Linked DNA regions of Homo sapiens: region 1 is linked to region 2. Evidence: promoter capture Hi-C in human tissues and cell types (Jung and others, 2019). All regions are on one chromosome and are shown on one strand. The core of a region is centred on a gene start or on the middle of the fragment in contact, and the rest is flanking DNA. Distances in the headings are between cores, read along the strand shown. Region 1 overlaps DNAJC11 (DnaJ heat shock protein family (Hsp40) member C11). Region 2 holds the start of ACOT7 (acyl-CoA thioesterase 7).

Region 1 (3,644 bases), core at 140-2,639, 250 kb after region 2:
AGACGGAGTCTCACTGTCCTCCAGGCTGGAGTGCAGTGGCACGATCTCCATCTCAGCTCACTGCAACCTCCGCCTTCGGGTTCAAGCAATTCTCCTGCCTCGGCCTCCCAAATAGCTGGGATTATAGGCGTGTGCCACCACGTCTGGCTAATTTTTGTATTTTCAGTAGAGATGGGGTTTCACCACGTTGGCCAGGCTGGTCTCAAACTCCTGACCTCAGGCGATCCGGCCGCCTTGGCCTCCTAAAGTGCTGGGATTACAGGCATAAGCCACTGCACCTAGCCAAGCAACTGTGTCTTTAAGAACAAAATTACAATGCAAAGGCTATTTCAGCCTTAACTTGGGTAAAGCCTGGTTGAGTGAAGGTGACAGGCATTCCTTGACCCGAAAGGCCTAAGTTCAACTTACTTGACTTTGAGAGAAACACCCTGTGGAACTCCAACGCTGACAGCTGCACCCAAAACGCTGTGCCTGGAGATCTTCCTCTCAGCTCCGTACTCCACCACCGTCCCAAAGAAGCCTGCTCTGCAGGGAGAGAACGCGGTCTGTGCCTGTGCCCCTCATTCATCACTTCAGGGGCAGCTGTCATTTGAGAAGAGGCCAGGTACCTTCCCTTCCCTCCCTCCAGCCTCCTCGACCCCCAGGGAGCAGATTCATGACAGAAGAAAGTTGGGACACCCATGGTCTAGTTCTTCCACAACACTCTCTAAGCTCCTCAAGGGCTGGGACTGTAGTGTTAAATCCCCCACAGCCTCAAAATAGGAAGCTCTCCAAAAATGTCACACACACGTAGATATTCACACGAGCAAGGTGTCTTACACCAACTGGTTCCACTGTGAAGACCCGCATGCAGTACCAGTGTGCTTCCATTTTAGCCAGGCCAGGACTTACTTGAGGGATCCTTTCACACGAGTCTGATCGTCATCTTGGAATTTGTGCTGATAGCTGATCAGTGCAAAGGAGTGAGGGATTCCCAGCTGGGGAGACAGAGGGTGCAAGGATGCGTGGCTAGGGCGTGTGACTCTGTGGGGAGATGGGTATCTGCCCTCCCACTAGCTCTGGGCATCTGCTGCACACAGGCCTTTAAGGCAGGGGTCACGGTCTGGCAGCCGCAGTGAGTGCACCATGATTTATTAGCAGCCAGTAATTAAAAAGTGGGAGACTTCACTGAAAACCCAGTTTTCTAGCTTCTCACAAGAAATAAAAAACTCTGGTGACACTGAGCCTATGCTCCTAGGTGGCAGCGGCTGGTGAGAGCCAAGGAGCAGTGGCCCGTGTGGGGCTTCTCATGTACCAGCCCTGGTGTGGCCACAGGGGCGTCCGAGGGCATGATTCTGCTATGGGGCTTCATCTGCCCGCCCCCAATTCCGTGGGTGGCTCCCACCAGACATTAAGATGTTGTTCTGCTTTAAGATGATCCAACAAAGCTGCCCCAGGCGCCTGAAGGCAACTGCATTTCATACTCGAAGGTTCCACCAGGTCACTCGAGTGTGAGCACCGAGAGCCTGCCCCTCAGGGCCCTGTATGGGCTTAGACTTAGTGGTGATCAGGACGCAGGATTTAAGGGGAGCACTGAGTGCTTGGGAGGAGGGGTCCTCCCAGAGCTCTGTCTGCAGGAGATGATGGCTGCTCGGCTCACCTGCAGGGCCACAGTGAAGTGGCTGGTTTTAGTGTCTCGGACGATGCTAGTGTTCATGGCTGACTGGATACCCCATCGCCACTGCAGGTAGCCCACGGTGTTCTTGTCTAGGTTCCGAGCTAGGACAGTGGTCAGGCCGGGTCGGATTCCACGGGATGAAAACTGCAGAGCACAGTTTGTTGTCACAAAGCTGGAGAGACACAGAGACAGAATAGGTCCTGGATAGCACCTGCTCTCAGCTGTTCTGTTACTTCCTCTCTGCCTGGCTAAGACCTCACTTACTGTCACGTCTATGCATCCCTGGGCCAGCTCCCAGTAAAAAAAAAAGCAGGAGGTCAGGCCTCTATCCACACAGAGGGGGAGGGTCCTAGCCAGAATCTTCCTAGTAACCTCCCGACTCCCCTCAGCCGCCCTAACTTTAGCTACAACCAAATAGGCACCTGACTGTCTGCATTCCTATGCCAGCAGATGCAACCCCACTCAAGTTAGAATGGATGGGGGCCGAGGAGTGCAAGTCAGAATCACCAACGGAGGGTCTCATATTAAGCAGTCCAAGACAGTGGTGCTCATACTGCACGCTGGAATCACCTGGCTCATCCACAAATCACGGCTGGTGGCTTCTTCGCCGGCATGCTGATTCCTTCAGTGTGGGCTTGGAGTGCTAAGTGTCCCAATGATTCCAATGTGCAGTAGAGTTTGAGAATCACTTACCTAGAGGACACCCCAGACCTATGGAACCAGAATTTCTGGGTGGAGGCATCAGTATATTTTTGGAGCTGCTGTGTGATTTCTGATGTACTAGTGACCACAGCTGGGTACTAGTGACAGAAACTACAGGCAAAGCGAGCACAGGAAACCGGTTCCCGAAAAGAGCCTCTGCAGTTTCTTTCCAAGGGAGTCCAGCCCCATCTTCTGGTTGAAAAGAGGTATTTCATTTTACTAACAGAAATTCACACTTCATTCAAGGTGCTGAAGGGTAAACTAACAGCTGGTTTCTTTAATAAAGAGCTCCACATCAATTGCCTAAGTTTCTTTCTCTCCTTTCTAAGCTCTGGAGGTGATGTTTATGCCATTAAAATAACAGTAGGCAGGCTCATTGGCTCACACCTGTAACCCCAGCACTTTGGGAGGCTGAGGAGGCAAATTGCTTCACCCCAGGAGTTCAAGGACAGCCTGGACAACATGACAAAACCCCCATCTCTACAAAAAAGACACAAAATTAGCCAGGTGTAGCGGCACGCCCTGTAGTCTCAGCGACTGAGGAGGAAGGAGCACTTGAGCCTGGACAGGTCTTTTTTTTTTTTTTTTTTTTTTGACGGAGTTTCGCTCGTCCAGGCTGGAGTGCAGTAGCGTGATCTTCTCAGCTCACTGCAACCTCCGCCTCCTGGATTCAAGTGATTCTCCTGCCTCAGCTTCCTGGGTAGCTGGGACTACAGGCGCCCACCACCATGTCCGGTTAATATTTTGTATTTTTAGTAGAGATGGGGTTTCACCATGTTGGCCAGACTGGTCTCGAATTCCTGCCCCCAGGTGATCCACCTGCCTCAGCCTCCCAAAGTGCTGGGATTATAGGCACGAGCCACTGTGCCCAGCCAACAGGTCGATATTTTTGATTTAAGATGGCTTATTCGGCCGTAACTCCATCGTAAATCAAGGAACATCTGCAACTTGATCCAAGGATTAGAGGACCGTGGTTAGCAGACATCCATAACTAACCTGGCCACTATATATTAAGAAACTGGGCTAGTAGGCCGGGCGCGGTGGCTCACGCCTGTAATCCCAGCACTTTGGGAAGCCGAGGTGGGTGGATCACAAGGTCAAGTGATTGAGACCATCCTGGCCAACATGGTGAAACCCCGTCTCTAGTAAAAATACAAAAATTAGCTAGGCGTGGTGGCATGTGCCTGTAGTTCCAGTTACTTGGGAGGCTGAGGCAGAATAGCTTGAACCTGGGAGGTGGAGGTTGCAGTGAGCCAAGACTGCGCCACTGCACTCCAGCCTGGTG
Region 2 (3,664 bases), core at 321-2,820:
CTATTGGACTTGGCTTGAGCCCAAGGTCAGTCTGTGATGCCCAACCCCCAAATGTGAGGAACCCACTACCAAAACAGAAAGCAGCTCTCACTCCTGGTAGTTCATCAAGCAGGATAGGACCGGTCGCAGGCCACAGAGCCTGTGTGCAGTGGCTGAAAACCTAGACTCCTTGTCCTCACTTAGCTCATGCACAAATGCCAGCCTGCTGCTTCCGATTCTGCCGAAGAGAACTGCAGAGTAACCTTCAGGCTGCCCTCCCCACCTCCTATGGGAAATGAGCTTGTTCATGATCTCCAGCCTCCAGCTTCCTCTGGGGGCCTGCATCTATCTACTCAGTACCTGGTGGAAGAAGAGGGGGTGCTCTAGAAGGACAACCCTTTGCCTCTATTGTGTAAGATGCTTTCAGGCCCAACAGACCACTGATTCCCTTTTCTTCATAGTAAACTGTTAGAGGTAGACAGTATTATCTGTTCTTCCTTTCAACACCTGCCCTCCCCCAAACCGAAGCAGTGCACTGAAGACGGTAGCTCTGCAACCTCCTCCCACAGGGGCACCCACCGAGGGGCTCGCGCGGCTCTGGGCACCTCCCCTCCACCTCTGGGGGCTTTGGTTAGCGCAGCACAACCGCCGAGGTAATGATCCCGAATCCTCGAGGAGGCTAAGCAGGACCACGGGGCTGAGGCTCCGGGATGCTCGGGCGAGGCCCGAGGCGGGGCGGCCCACGGGCGCCGGTCGCCGGGCTCTGGAGCTGTGCATTGACCTCCGCCCGCCCCGTCCCTGCCTGGCTTTCTCGCCCAAACGGCCCGTGGCGCGGCCGCCGCCCTGGAGATGCGGCCAGGAGGAGCCGGCTGGAGGCGGGCGGGGGCCGCCCGGCTTGTGCGGCATCGCGAGTCGCATCCCGGCCGGGCGGGCGTCCGGGGCGGCGGCGCGGAAGGCCGTGCGGGGAATCGGCGGGCGGGGGCGGCCTCGGCGGGTGGGGACCACAGAGCCAAGCGGGGCAGGCCTGGGGCGGTGACCGGCGCGCCTGGCCGCTGCAGGCTGCGCGCGGGCCCTCTCTTACCGGCAGATCTGGATGGCGGACGGCGTCTCGACGTCTGGGCCCGACATGCTGGGGGCTGCGGCGGCGGATGCGGCGGGCGGCTGCAGAAGGGCGCAGGTGTCTGGCAGGCCCGGCGCGGAATGAATGAGCCCGGGCCGCGCCATAAAGGGGGAGGGCAGAGGTGGAGCGATGGGGCTGGTGAGGCGGGGCCTGCGCGCCGGGGGCAATCGAACGCGGCCTCCCCGCGCCGACCCCGCCCCCGCGCCGGCCCCACCCCGAGCCCCGCCTCCCAGGCCGCCAAGGCTGCAGAGAGCTCGCGCGGGCGTACGATTCTGGCGGCGTGGGGGCCCAGGCAGCCGCCGCTTCCAGAAGGTTCGGTGGCGGTTGGGCCGCGCCGGTGCGGGGAAGGCCCGCTAGCCGCGGCAGCCGCGCCCGACCCGGTGGCAGCCCCGAGGGAAGCGTCTGGGGCGGCCTAAGTGGCGGAGCAGGGCGGACTTGGGCCCTCACTCTCCGCGCGGCGGTAAATATTTGTGCTGGGCGTTCCCGGCCGCCCGCGCCGCCGATTCGCTGCCGCGCCCAGTGCCTGGGCGGCCGGATGAGGTCAGAGCGGAAGGCGCGGCCCGGGCTCCTGGCAGTGGGGCCTGATTCCCACCCCCGCCCCCAACCCACCCCGGCACCAGTCGCCCGCATCGCGGCTCTCGCTAAGATCGGCCCTAAGAGAGAATGGAAGGCTGTTTCCTAGAAAGGAGCATTGGTGGCGGCTGCTGGGAAGACACGGGGAATGGAACGGGCCTTTGCTTCCGCAGCACAAAGCGTCACGAGGTGGGGAGGAGGAAAGGCCGGCGACTATCTACACCGCCGCCTGCAGCTTTTACTGGGAGCGCTGAGCGCCAGCCTGGAGGTGCACGTGTTGCAGTGAGGAGCCCTGAAACATGCGTGTTTTACTGCACAAGATGTGCCCTTGAATGGAGTCTAGGCCAGTCGGGGTCACCAAAAAAAATCCACCAAAAAACACCCAAGAAGGGAGAAGCGGTCACCCCCCACGTGCTGGAATGACAGCTTTTTACTTGCTAGGCAGTTGGACCTTTTCCGAATTTTCTACAATGCACATAGATTTGTACTTACATCTTTAAATTAAAACCCACGCAACTCCGGCTCCCTAGTGCAATTTGAACAACCCATTTACACTCAGCTAGGTAGCTCTGAAGGAACTGTGCCTCACCCCGGTCACCCTTGAGTTACCAGACCGTGGAGGCAGCCCACAGCATGATCTGTAGCTCCCAGAAGCAGGGGCAGTCAAAGTCAGAACTCTGTGATTTCAAGACTTTTATACTAAGAATTTTGTTTTTCTGTTTTCTTTTTTTTTTTTTTTTTTTGAGACGGAGTCTTGCTCTGTTGCCCAGGCTGGAGTGCAGTGGTGCAATCTCAGCTCACTGCAAGCTCCGCCTCCCAGGTTCACGCCATTCTCCTGCCTCAGCCTCCCAAGTAGCTGGGACTACAGGCGCCTGCCACCACGCCCGGCTAATTTTTTGTATTTTTAGTAGAGACGGGGTTTCACTGTGTTAGCCAGGATGGTCTTGATCTCCTGACCTTGTGATCTGCCCGCCTCTGCCTCCCAAAGTGGTGGGATTACAGGCGTGAGCCACCACGCCTGGCCTGTTTTCTTTTTTTGATATAGAGTCTCGTTCTGTCGCCCAGGCTGGAATGCAGTGGTGTGATAGCTCACTGTAACCTCTGCCATCCAGTTTCAAGCAATTCTCCTGCCTCAACCACACTGAGTAGCTGGGACCATAGGCATGCACCACCACGTTTGGCTTATTTTTGTATTTTTAGTACAGATGTGTCCAGAATTGGTGGGTTCTTGGTCTCACCGACTTCAAGAATGAAGCCGCGGACCCTCGTGGTGAGTGTTACAGCTCTTAAGGTGGCGCATCTGGAGTTTCTTCCTTCTGGTGGGTTCGTGGTCTCCCTGGCTCAGGAGTGAAGCTGCAGACCTTCACAGTGAATGTTAACGGCTCATAAAGGCAGTGTGGACCCAAAGAGCGAAAGAACAACACTCCTACAGCGTGGAAGGGGACCAGAGTGGGTTGCCACTGCTGGCTCGGGCAGCCTGCTTTTATTCTCTCATCTAGCCCTACCCACATCCTGCTGATTGGTAGAGCAGAGTGGTCTGTTTTGACAGGGTGCTGATTGGTGTGTTTACAATCCCTGAGCTAGACACAAAGGTTCTCCATGTCCCCACCAGATTAGCTAGATAGAGTGTCGACACAAAGGTTCTCCAAGTCCCCACCAGCGTAGTTAGATACAGAGTGTTGATTGGTGCATTCACAAACCCTGAGCTAGACACAGGGTGCTGATTGGTGTGTTTACAAACCTTGAGCTAGATACAGAGTGCCGATTGGTGTATTTACAATCCCTTAGCTAGACATAAAGGTTCTCCATGTCCCCACCAGACTCAGGAGCCCAGCTGGCTTCACCCAGTGGGTCCCGCACTGGGGCTGCAGGTGGAGCTGCCTGCTAGTCCCGCACTGTGTGCCCACACTCCTCAGCCCTTGGGTGGTCGATGGCACTGGGTGCCGTGGAGCAGGGGGCGGTGCTCATTGGGGAGGCTCGGGCCGCACAGGA

What was found. Contacts are between HindIII fragments. The study calls those that stand out against the background at their distance.
Region 1: a contact is called between a fragment that was not itself captured here and the fragment with the promoter of ACOT7 in region 2, in 1 of the 25 tissues and cell types used here (pancreas).

The regions. Positions count from the first base shown.
Region 1 is chr1:6,644,150-6,647,793 of GRCh38, forward strand. DNAJC11 (DnaJ heat shock protein family (Hsp40) member C11) reads right to left here. Exons shown (of 16, transcript NM_018198.4): 8 at 1,640-1,829; 9 at 892-977; 10 at 409-525. Among named protein-coding and RNA genes, the nearest start is that of THAP3, 21 kb to the left of the region's middle. RefSeq lists an enhancer at 1,964-2,463. The HindIII fragment of the contact is 9,696 bases long and covers 1-3,644 here.
Region 2 is chr1:6,392,197-6,395,860 of GRCh38, forward strand. It overlaps ACOT7 (acyl-CoA thioesterase 7), which reads right to left and starts at 1,571. Exons shown (of 9, transcript NM_007274.4): 1 at 1,061-1,571. The coding sequence starts at 1,203. RefSeq lists silencers at 882-971, 1,242-1,691 and enhancers at 920-1,431, 1,432-1,944, 1,945-2,455, 3,208-3,664. The HindIII fragment of the contact is 35,573 bases long and covers 1-3,664 here.